4 separate regions of the Homo sapiens genome follow, and regions 2, 3 and 4 are each linked to region 1. Evidence: promoter capture Hi-C in 16 types of primary human blood cells and fetal thymus (Javierre and others, 2016). All regions are on one chromosome and are shown on one strand. Each heading gives the region's core, a stretch centred on a gene start or on the middle of the fragment in contact. The rest is flanking DNA. Distances are from core to core; before and after follow the strand shown. Region 1 holds the start of PCDHA7 (protocadherin alpha 7). Region 2 overlaps PCDHGA1 (protocadherin gamma subfamily A, 1). Region 3 holds the start of PCDHGB6 (protocadherin gamma subfamily B, 6). Region 4 holds the start of PCDHGA4 (protocadherin gamma subfamily A, 4).

Region 1 (2,844 bases), core at 167-2,666:
GAGTCATGATGTTTTACTGGTTATAAAATGGAAAGAGTTTTCCCTGGGAGAATATGGAGACTAACAGGTATTCATGAGAAGAGAGTAACTTAAGTGAGTATACAGAAAATTCCAAATGTACCTAGAAATGAGGAATAGTCCACTTTGGGTAAAGCACATGGTTCCCATAAGAGAGAGTGTGATATAAAGCAAGAAAAGTAATATGAGAAAAACCTTTTGTATAACTTTGAGTACTAGACGAGTAATTTTGACACTCTTCAAAGTCATTTGAAAGCTGTCAAAAAGTGTGAAGCAATACGAATAAAAAGTATTAACGGAAGATGACTGCAAGGATTAAATGAAGGAGAATGAAATAGGAATGGACAGGTTACACAATAAGAAGCTACTGCAATACACCAGGAGAGCAGCAATTATAAAAACTTATTTAGGAAAGCATCTGAATACAGACATAATTATTTTACATGCCATTGGGAACATTGGAGTGAAACATTCCAGAAAACGAACACAGTAAGGTAGATCCAAAAAGGATGAAATACCTCAAGACTTGATCAAAGGGCTGCTGTATGTGAGATGGCTGAGCACTGAAATTTATCTAATAAAATAAACTTACATTTTAAAAGAAATAATACAAATCATATTTGAGATTGTAAAAATAGGCATATATTCATAACACACAAGTGTTCGAAAGGATAGAATGAGGAAACAAATATAAAATGATGAACTCCTGAAACAGTATATATAGATTCTGCTAAAGCAAAAAATTCAGAATACTTCCTCCTCAAAAAGTTCACATGATACAAATTCTTCCCCTTCAAAGATTCCCCAAACCTTCTCTTATTTTGTTTTCCCAAGAGAAGTGTCTGGATAGTTGCTAATGTTTCTTGCCTCCTAAAAAGAAAACACACACACACACACCGCTTTCTAAGTTTCTCTTTCATCAATCAGTAGATTCTTGAGATCCTGGGTCCCTAAAAGAGTACAGGATTTTTCTTAACAAGCGATACTGAATCAAGAATATGAAGTTTCCTGGGATCTAGATCAAAGGAATTTAAACTTGCAGTTGTTTAAATTCATGTTGTCACTTAGGTTTCTATCTTTATTTAAAACTGTGTGAAAAAAAAGTTTTTCTAAGGCATGAGGAAGCTACAGTTCTGGTAACACTGAGTATTCAAAAGCCATCAGTCGCCTAAGAATGCTTCTAACAATCATGAGAAATGCTATTTTAACCTTTAACAACAATGAAGAAAAAAATTCAGAGTTTGAAATAAAACTTTTCATCTGATTAATAGTTTGTAATGGTTTGTAATTCTTACTTACATGATGGCCACATGATGTCGCTCTTTACCGCAAATTCTTTCGTAATCAGCAAAAGGAAGTCATTCCTTTTCGCACTGGAAAGACGCTCCACTCTCTTTCACTCTTTGGATGCACAACAATGGCCACACATCGAGATTGAAATGAAGGGATAAAAACATTCCTATAAATTCGAAGGCAAGTTTTGCTGACTAGAAAAACAAGCCAATAATTTGAAATGGTGTGCCCGAATGGATACGACCCAGGGGGCCGACATCTACTGCTGTTTATTATAATTCTAGCAGCTTGGGAGGCAGGGAGAGGCCAGCTCCACTACTCGGTCCCCGAGGAGGCTAAACATGGCAACTTCGTGGGCCGCATCGCGCAGGACCTGGGGCTGGAGCTGGCGGAGCTGGTGCCGCGCCTGTTCCGGGCGGTGTGCAAATTCCGTGGGGATCTTCTGGAGGTAAATCTGCAGAATGGCATTTTGTTTGTGAATTCTCGGATCGACCGCGAGGAGCTGTGCGGGCGGAGCGCGGAGTGCAGCATCCACCTGGAGGTGATCGTGGAAAGGCCGCTGCAGGTTTTCCATGTGGACGTGGAGGTGAAGGACATTAACGACAACCCTCCGGTGTTCCCAGCGACACAAAGGAATCTGTTCATCGCGGAATCCAGGCCGCTTGACTCTCGGTTTCCACTAGAGGGCGCGTCCGATGCAGATATCGGGGAGAACGCCCTGCTCACTTACAGACTGAGCCCCAATGAGTATTTCTTCCTGGACGTGCCAACCAGCAACCAGCAGGTAAAACCTCTTGGACTTGTATTACGGAAACTTTTAGACAGAGAAGAAACTCCGGAGCTTCATTTATTGCTCACGGCCACCGATGGAGGCAAACCCGAGCTGACTGGCACCGTTCAATTACTCATCACGGTACTGGACAACAATGACAATGCCCCAGTGTTCGACAGAACCCTGTATACGGTGAAATTACCAGAAAACGTTTCTATCGGAACGCTGGTGATTCACCCCAATGCCTCAGATTTAGACGAAGGCTTGAATGGGGATATTATTTACTCCTTCTCCAGTGATGTTTCTCCAGATATAAAATCCAAGTTCCACATGGACCCCTTAAGTGGGGCAATCACAGTGATAGGACATATGGATTTTGAAGAAAGTAGAGCACACAAGATCCCAGTCGAGGCTGTCGATAAAGGCTTCCCACCCCTGGCTGGTCATTGTACAGTTCTTGTGGAAGTTGTGGATGTAAATGACAATGCTCCACAGTTGACTCTCACTTCCCTGTCTCTCCCTATTCCAGAGGACGCCCAACCAGGTACCGTCATCACATTGATTAGCGTGTTTGACCGAGATTTTGGAGTCAACGGACAGGTTACCTGCTCCCTGACGCCCCGCGTTCCCTTCAAGTTGGTGTCCACCTTCAAGAATTACTATTCATTGGTGCTGGACAGCGCTCTGGACCGCGAGAGTGTGTCCGCCTATGAGCTGGTGGTTACCGCGCGGGACGGGGGCTCGCCTTCTCTGTGGGCCAC
Region 2 (2,844 bases), core at 1-2,500, 590 kb after region 1:
GGCAGCCTCGAGTCTCTGGCTAACTCTGAAACCTCAGACCTCTCGCTGTACTTGGTGGTGGCGGTGGCCGCAGTCTCCTGCATCTTCCTGGTCTTTGTCATCGTGCTGCTGGCACTCAGGCTGTGGCGCTGGCATAAGTCACGCCTGCTGCAGGCTTCTGAAGGCGGGTTGGCAGGTATGCCCACGTCACATTTTGTAGGCGTGGACGGGGTACAGGCTTTCCTGCAAACCTATTCCCACGAGGTCTCTCTCATTGCGGACTCGCAGAAGAGTCACCTGATTTTCCCCCAGCCCAACTATGGGGACACGCTCATCAGCCAGGAGAGCTGTGAGAAAAGCGAGCCACTCTTGATAGCTGAAGACTCAGCTATCATTTTAGGCAAATGTGACCCGACAAGTAATCAGGTGAGATTTATTTCTCTGCCTCCTAATTGTTGGTGTCTTGGCACAAGTCTTTTAAGGAGATGTTTTTTGAGCCTGTTATGAAAACTGTTTGGGGGGGGGGTGGGGCGGCATATATTTAGTTCATATATATTTAGAGCAATACATGTGAGTTTTACTTTGCCTTTCATGAGATTACGATAATCTTTCAGAACGTTTTTGTGAAAGTCATTTTTCAATCTTGGCATATTTTCTTTTGATTTCAAAGGGGCCATTCAACTATGCTGGTTTGGTTTGAAGTAAGTTGAATTTTAGTATTATTTTTCTATTATCAGTGTATGAGGCTCTCAATTTATTATATATAGATACAAATTAATGATTCACAAACACTTTTTATTTCCATTTCAATTTTGCTGTGCCTTCACTGATTTGTAGTTATATTCCACCATTATTTGCTATTACTGCTAATGTTCAAATTTTGATCCTGTTGATTTAATAGCATGCTCCCTCTAGCTCTCCTTCTCATCTATCTATCTATACACATGCACACACACTTATACACGTAAGCTTTTCTCTGAGCAATTTTATTTTGATTCTTGGTGGCTGGTAATATGCTTAGATCCTGTTGACTATTTCAACTTTGTCTCATTTCTTCATCCTATCAACACAGACATATTGACTGGCTTTTAACTACTGGATTTCCTTGGGAGATAAAATTTAGATCACATTTTTTCTTAAGCTCTAGATGTCTTTTCCATTACTATGGTGAAGTTACATTGACTGTTCTGAGGAAATAATTGAATTATTGAACTGGTATTATTTCCTTTTATTCTTTTACTTTGGTGTCTGTGTTTGTATGTATGGAAGGTTTTTTAATGTAGTAAATCCATATATAGAAATAACTTGATTTTGATTCAGTGCTTCTCAAAAACCTATTTTCAAATGTGCTAAAGATGTCTACAGATTTATTCAAATAGAGTAGTTTGTGAATATATAAATAGATTGAAGGTATTTGGACTTTAATTAAACTGATTTAGCTAGTATCCTTCTGGCTATTTTTTTGTTCATTTTCAGTGTAGTTGGGAGTCATAGATTCCTTCTTTCTTTCTTTATAAGGTCATTCTTATGGCAAATAGTACATTCAGTTCTTTTATTCAGACCAACTTGTTATTGAAGCTTGATAGTTGCCTGACATACATGTTATCTGAAGCAATGTCTAGGAAAGCCAAATGAGGAAAGGAGACTTATCTAGGGTTTTTGATCACAGGAATCATTTCCATAATCAATTCAGTCAACACTCTCACATCACTTCTAGGTATTTGCCCCAAATTACTTGGATATTTATGTTCCCTTTCAAGTTTAGTTTTCTCATTTAGGAATTTACCTTATGTCATTAGTTGTAAACTGACTATCTAGGGCTCGGACAAAAATAATTTCAACTGTAGGAAAGGCAAGTCTTCCAACAGATGCCTACATTTTTCTTGAAGTCAAGAAAAATGTTCAGGTATTTTGAGCATCTAGGGATAGGATTTATACTTGTGGAATTCCAAACTGAGAAAAATGATGTAAGGCATTGTACTTTGACTGGAATTAGTTAAATAAAAAGGATATGAGGTATTTGGCTGGGAAAAGGAGATTGTTCCATATTATAAAACCTCATCTAAACTAACTTCCCAAGATCGTGGAGAACAAAAAGGAAGGGTTGGCTTTGAAATGTGATATTAAGAGGGTTATGTTGATTCGGAGGTAGTGATAAAGTTCTGTTAAGGTATAACATATAGTCCCATTAAATAGAGGATAAAAATAAAACACCATCACATTTCATGTTATTAATTCCTATGGCAACCTACTAGGCTATACCTTTATATTCTCTTTATGATGAAACATGAAACAATAATCCTTTTCAGAAACCTCTTTTATAAGTGATAAGAAGGGTTTGGCTAACTTTATTCTGAATATGCCCTATATAGCTTTCAGTGCTCCTCCAGTTTTCTCTGATAAAACTAGGAGGAAAATTATCTGCACATCAGATTGAAAATAATACTGCATATCATTTCATAGTGGTCAAAATTTTCCCATACCACTTGATGGGGATGTTTTCCCACAAGGTTTTTGTTCTACAACAGGAGAGAAGACTTTGCCTAGTTCTTCCAATATGTGCATTGCTTCTGCTTAGAAAAAAACAAACTTTTAAATTCTCTTTGCTGGGTTAATGACTGTTCTATAGATTCCCATCTCTAAGGAATCTTCTTTGGTAGTAAACACTGGAAAACAGTCACTACGAAAACTCATAAAATGTCTAGTTTCCTATACATTAGTCCAACACATCAGTCTAATTCTGAATCCCATTGAATTAGCAAAGGCTTCCGGCTGCAGTTTTCTAAATAGACTCAGAGCCCTGCTGTTGGCCAATGTGCTGCAAGAACTGGAGCCTGGGATCTACCAGGACGATATTCTGTTCAG
Region 3 (2,844 bases), core at 238-2,737, 570 kb after region 1:
AGATTCAAACTTCAGTTATCCACTTCCAAACCCTAGTAAACCAATTTTTTCCCTTTAATGGTGAAAGTTGTCACATCTTTTATTCTCATATCTTCAAAGGTCTTAATTTCCTAATGCTTTAATGTTAAATTATGGAGAATAGTAGGACATTCTTCTTTTCTATAGTATATGCTTGCTCAAGAGAAGTTTCTAAGACTGGACACTGTGAAATGACAAAACAAGGAATTAAAAATATTTCTCTCACTTATATATTATTTCTGGCTCAATTCTCCAACTTTTGAGTCTAGAAATGAACTTGCATATCAGATATAATTTAAGAAAATATTCTCAGGAACTGCTGGGAAGATTCTAAAACTATTTTACTGTTTTTAGCTATAAGGAAGAGAATAATGTATTATTTAATGTTATTTTAAACATAGTGTTGTTTCAAATAGTAAATAACATTTCACAAGACATTTGAAAATAAGCTTTGAAGTTGACTCAAAATTCTATGCTAAACATGTGATCCATAGATACACTGATGACTGCTGGCATTTCTGTGGAAATGAAGAATTGTTTTATTTGTTTGTAATTATTTGGGTTTCAGTTGCTTTATTTTTAAGAAAAAAAAGCTGAAGTGTCTGGGAATCCTTTATGACATACAGACATTTTAATTATTTCAAACACGTTTTCCCCCTTAAGTGGGTAGCAAAAAAAATAAAGCATACTTCAGGCTCATATTTTTAACCATGCAACAAGAAAATTGTTACAATTTCTGTTCTGAGGAGTAGCCTTCATACTTAGTATTTATAAATATTGAAATGTATGTTAATTTGGGGAAAACATAACAGATATCCATGAAGGCTTGTATGTCATGGTAGGTAGTTACTATTCGATACCACAAAAATGTCTCTTGCCCTTAAAACCAGAACACGAGGCTCACCAGACAGATGACTGAATGGAGTATGGAAAATCTTTATTTCTGTTTTTCTTAGGCTATGTAGGACTTAACTTATTGTGCATTGGTAACAGATTGTAGAACATAAGCTGAAAGATAAAATTCTTGACCTTAATGTCTCATCTTAAAAAGAAGCATTGGTTGACATTCTATATCTCGTATTACTTAAAAATAATGGGGGAGCGCAGTATATATTAAACAAAGATTGGCTTTGTGGTGATCATTGTTGAAGGTGGGGTGATGGCTATGTGAAGGTTCACTATATATACTCCCTACTGTTGTATAAGTTTGAAATTGTGCATAATAGATTTATTTAAAACACAAAGCATAGAAATATCTACTATAATATTATGGTGAGAGCAAAATTTGAGGGGGATGTACACCTGCATTTTCGAAGAATATATACATTTCGGAGACCGAATTCAAAATGAAAAACCGGGCTGCTGTCCCGCACGGAGCCTCTGGGCGCCGCTGTCGGCCAGTGCAGAGCAAGCGCTGACGCCGGGGATCCGTCAGCCTCTGGCCTGGGATTCCCTGCGCAGCCAACAACAGAAAGAAGAAAACCAGCTCCCACACAGAGCCTCCCGGCTGCGCAGACCTTTCCCAGCACAGCGGATTGCCAGCTCCGAGACCCGGGACTCCTCCTGTCCTGGGCCGAATGCTCTTTTAGCGCGGTAGAGTGCACTTTCTCCAACTGGAAAAGCGGGGACCCAGCGAGAACCCGAGCGAACGATGGGAGGGAGCTGCGCGCAGAGGCGCCGGGCCGGCCCGCGGCAGGTGCTATTTCCTTTGCTGCTGCCTTTGTTCTACCCCACCCTGAGTGAGCCGATCCGCTACTCGATTCCGGAGGAGCTGGCCAAGGGCTCGGTGGTGGGGAACCTCGCTAAGGATCTAGGGCTCAGTGTCCTGGATGTGTCGGCTCGCAAGCTGCGAGTGAGCGCGGAGAAGCTGCACTTCAGCGTAGACGCGGAGAGCGGGGACTTACTTGTGAAGAACCGAATAGACCGTGAGCAAATATGCAAAGAGAGAAGAAGATGTGAGTTGCAATTGGAAGCTGTGGTGGAAAATCCTTTAAATATTTTTCATGTCATTGTGGTGATTGAGGATGTTAATGACCACGCCCCTCAATTTGATAAAAAGGAAATACATTTAGAAATTTTCGAATCTGCATCCGCTGGTACACGACTATCGCTTGACCCTGCCACGGATCCTGATATAAACATAAACTCAATTAAAGATTATAAGATAAACTCTAATCCTTATTTTTCATTAATGGTTAGAGTTAATTCCGATGGTGGCAAATACCCAGAGTTATCTCTGGAGAAACTCCTAGACCGGGAAGAACAGAGATCTCATAGCTTGATATTGACTGCCTTGGACGGAGGGGACCCACCAAGAAGTGCCACCGCTCACATAGAAATTTCTGTCAAGGATACCAATGATAACCCCCCGGTTTTCAGCAGAGACGAATATAGAATTAGTCTTAGTGAAAATCTGCCCCCTGGGTCCCCTGTGTTGCAAGTGACAGCCACTGACCAGGATGAGGGGGTCAATGCTGAGATAAACTACTACTTCCGAAGCACTGCCCAGAGCACAAAACATATGTTCTCATTGGATGAGAAAACAGGTATGATTAAGAATAACCAGTCATTTGATTTTGAAGATGTAGAAAGGTACACCATGGAAGTGGAAGCGAAGGACGGAGGTGGTCTCTCTACCCAGTGTAAAGTAATCATAGAAATCCTTGATGAAAACGACAACAGCCCAGAAATAATCATCACTTCTCTCTCTGATCAGATTTTGGAGAATTCACCTCCAGGAATGGTTGTTGCCCTCTTCAAAACACGGGATCTGGATTTCGGAGGAAATGGAGAAGTCAGGTGTAATATAGAAACAGACATTCCATT
Region 4 (2,844 bases), core at 112-2,611, 520 kb after region 1:
TCAATCTTTACTGTTGGCATTTCTGTATGGTTGGCAAATCTTGCTAAAGAGACCTGTTTCCTAGATGTTAACACTTAGTAATAGCAGTGCCTTTTCTTAGTTGATATGCAATACTATATTTTCAAGTCATTTTATTCTTAGCTCTTTATAAATGTATTTAGAGTTCTTCCCACCCAAGTTAAAGTTCATCAATTACATTAATTATGTAATTGATGTAATTATGTATTAATGTAATTATGTAATTAATGTAATCTTCATCAATTACATTCTAGTTTGTCTTTTTGCAGCAACATGTATGTTTAATACAGCCTTCCAATTATTAAGACTCTTAACACTTTGTCTCATCACAAGTAGCAAATATTGTCCAATTTTATATTTGCATCACTAACTTTGAGTCAATATTATTCCCACTCTATAATTTCAGTCAATGATATTTCATAATTTTCTTAACCATTCCTAAATTATTTGTTTTTATGCTCTTTCTATTTTGTCTCTATTAAAACAAAGAATGTAATGAACATTTGGGTTTATAAAGCGTTTTCCATACTTCTTGTTTCTTTAGTGTAGATTTCTGAGGAATTAGTTAAATCTATAAACATGTTGAGATTTTTTTAATGCATACTGTCAAATTTATTTCCAAACATCTTATTTCACCTCTCAATCATCCGCAGTTTGTGCGGTCTTTGAGGATTGTGAAAAACACGTTTAATCTACTCTCTCAAAGTCTGAGGGTTTTTAAATTCTGTATAGCTAATGCCCTTTTGTATGAGTCATTTCTACTGCTAATTGTTAAGTGAGGAATAAGCTTAAGAACTGATGTACTGCTTTATCTCAAATTTTCACAGATTAGTAAATTACTGTAAGTATTCATAAGAAAGAAAGCGATGGCACATGCAATGATAATCCATGTTCGGCTACCAAAACATTTCCTTTTACTGGCTATTTCTAAAATGAGAGCTAAAGTAAAGTTAGAAATTGTAAAATAATACTGAATGTGTCATGTGAAAAAATCACTAAACTATTATCTGCACTTTATAGTTATTCAGTCTAACTTTTCTTTTTATTTCTTTTTTATTTTTAAGATCAGAGTTATTTACCCATTGTTTTAGGCTTTGCATTTGAACTGGTCATTCATGAAACATTGAAAGGTTTCATAAAAATTACTACTCTATGAAAGGTATTGTTCTAAAGATTGAGAACACATTGTGAACAAGATAGTCATATGCATAGCTTGTGGCCAAGAATCTACTGTACACAAAATTAAGGAGCAAATTCTCTTCCCAAACCTATTATCCTATTTGTCAATCTCATTTGTACAGGGTAAGGCTAACTCTTGAACAGTAGGTGAGTTTTTTGCAAGGGAATTGAAGCATTGCCCCAGGTTCTAGAGGGTCAACTCCTGTGAGGAAACTTGTTACTGCATAAATTGGGACTAAAGCCAGACCTCCAAGTTCCTGTCCCACTGTCTTTTCACTTATCTGTCTCATCCATTTTTCAAGTCCACCTTTGTCTTTAGGAGAGATAATTATGTCCCTCACACAATACGCTATACTGAGAATGGGCTGTGGGGATGAACAATGTGAAAACTGAAAAGAGGAAGAACACATCTTAGGAAAAAAATCGTCATATTTTCTCTAAGAAAATAAATAACTTCATAAAGTTTATTGTACAGGAAGACTTGGATCATTCTTGAATTTTCATTGCAAATCAAAAACAGGAATTTGACTTTATTATCTTGGGAGAAATAGGAATAGAAAAGTGTATAAAAAATAAACTTTTTTTAACCAAGAATAAATTGCAGTAACAGGTTAAGACTCTGGGTGTCGCTGTTCACCAATCAGGGGGAAAAGACAAACCAGAAATTTAATCAGAATCACAAGATTTCTGCAGCACAAAGCACTGGCTCTGGAGCTTTATGAAAGCTTCAAGCGGAAGCCCTGAGAGCTCTGGCTGTGAATGCACTTTATTTTGGACCCAGAAGATCCTGGGGCTCCTCAGGCCTCGACAGAGGGAAAACCGAAGCACAGGCGACTCCGCGGCGGGGTTGTAATGGCGGCGCCTCCTGCTCGCCCAGACCACACCCGGCTGCTCCAGATCTGCCTTCTCCTGGGGGTTCTGGTGGAAATCAGGGCCGAACAGATTCTCTACTCGGTGTTTGAGGAGCAGGAAGAAGGCTCAGTGGTGGGCAACATCGCCAAGGACCTGGGGTTGGCGCCCCGGGAGCTGGCGGAGCGCGGAGTCCGCATCGTCTCCAGAGGTAGGACGCAGCTTTTCGCCCTGAACCCGCGCAGCGGCACCTTGGTCACCGCGGGTAGGATAGACAGGGAGGAGCTCTGCGACAGATCTCCAAACTGTGTGACAAACCTGGAGATTCTTCTAGAAGATACAGTGAAGATTTTGCGGGTAGAGGTGGAAATAATCGATGTTAATGATAACCCACCCAGTTTTGGGACAGAACAGAGGGAAATAAAAGTTGCTGAAAATGAAAATCCTGGGGCAAGATTTCCTCTTCCTGAAGCTTTTGATCCGGATGTAGGTGTAAACTCCCTGCAGGGTTACCAGCTCAACTCAAACGGTTACTTTTCCCTGGACGTGCAAAGTGGGGCCGATGGGATTAAGTACCCAGAGCTGGTGCTGGAACGCGCTCTAGATCGCGAGGAAGAGGCGGTTCACCACCTCGTTCTCACGGCCTTCGATGGAGGTGACCCGGTTCGCTCTGGCACTGCCAGGATTCTCATAATACTTGTGGATACCAACGATAATGCTCCCGTGTTCACTCAGCCCGAGTACCACGTAAGTGTTCGTGAGAACGTTCCTGTAGGCACTCGGCTACTCACCGTAAAA

Evidence for each region. The method cuts DNA at HindIII sites, captures the fragments that hold promoters and counts their contacts. A CHiCAGO score of 5 or more calls a contact.
Region 2: a contact is called between a fragment that was not itself captured here and the fragment with the promoter of PCDHA7 in region 1, in 1 of 17 cell types (fetal thymus). The highest score is 5.3, in fetal thymus.
Region 3: a contact is called between the fragment with the promoter of PCDHGB6 here and the fragment with the promoter of PCDHA7 in region 1, in 3 of 17 cell types (erythroblasts, fetal thymus and M1 macrophages). The highest score is 6.6, in erythroblasts.
Region 4: a fragment that was not itself captured here is called in contact with the fragment with the promoter of PCDHA7 in region 1 in 4 of 17 cell types (M1 macrophages, fetal thymus, erythroblasts and 1 more); the score reaches 10.7 in M1 macrophages.

What each region holds. Positions count from the first base shown.
Region 1 is chr5:140,832,853-140,835,696 of GRCh38, forward strand. PCDHA7 (protocadherin alpha 7) reads left to right here and starts at 1,417. Exons shown (of 4, transcript NM_018910.3): 1 at 1,417-2,844. The coding sequence starts at 1,532. The region is part of intron 1 of PCDHA1 (protocadherin alpha 1); the gene reads left to right. The region is part of intron 1 of PCDHA2 (protocadherin alpha 2); the gene reads left to right. All of the region lies in intron 1 of PCDHA3 (protocadherin alpha 3), which reads left to right. It also overlaps PCDHA4, PCDHA5, PCDHA6 and PCDHA@. RefSeq lists an enhancer at 2,710-2,844. The HindIII fragment of the contact is 15,813 bases long and covers 1-2,844 here.
Region 2 is chr5:141,423,256-141,426,099 of GRCh38, forward strand. All of the region lies in intron 1 of PCDHGA1 (protocadherin gamma subfamily A, 1), which reads left to right. The region is part of intron 1 of PCDHGA2 (protocadherin gamma subfamily A, 2); the gene reads left to right. The region is part of intron 1 of PCDHGA3 (protocadherin gamma subfamily A, 3); the gene reads left to right. The region is part of intron 1 of PCDHGB1 (protocadherin gamma subfamily B, 1); the gene reads left to right. It also overlaps PCDHGA4, PCDHGB2, PCDHGA5, PCDHGB3, PCDHGA6 and PCDHGA7, and 9 more genes. Among named protein-coding and RNA genes, the nearest start is that of PCDHGA11, 3.6 kb to the left of the region's middle. The HindIII fragment of the contact is 609 bases long and covers 947-1,555 here.
Region 3 is chr5:141,406,534-141,409,377 of GRCh38, forward strand. PCDHGB6 (protocadherin gamma subfamily B, 6) reads left to right here and starts at 1,488. Exons shown (of 4, transcript NM_018926.3): 1 at 1,488-2,844. The coding sequence starts at 1,670. All of the region lies in intron 1 of PCDHGA1 (protocadherin gamma subfamily A, 1), which reads left to right. The region is part of intron 1 of PCDHGA2 (protocadherin gamma subfamily A, 2); the gene reads left to right. The region is part of intron 1 of PCDHGA3 (protocadherin gamma subfamily A, 3); the gene reads left to right. It also overlaps PCDHGB1, PCDHGA4, PCDHGB2, PCDHGA5, PCDHGB3 and PCDHGA6, and 6 more genes. RefSeq lists an enhancer at 1,897-1,946. The HindIII fragment of the contact is 5,535 bases long and covers 466-2,844 here.
Region 4 is chr5:141,353,152-141,355,995 of GRCh38, forward strand. All of the region lies in intron 1 of PCDHGA1 (protocadherin gamma subfamily A, 1), which reads left to right. The region is part of intron 1 of PCDHGA2 (protocadherin gamma subfamily A, 2); the gene reads left to right. The region is part of intron 1 of PCDHGA3 (protocadherin gamma subfamily A, 3); the gene reads left to right. The region is part of intron 1 of PCDHGB1 (protocadherin gamma subfamily B, 1); the gene reads left to right. It also overlaps PCDHGA4 and PCDHG@. The HindIII fragment of the contact is 1,117 bases long and covers 804-1,920 here.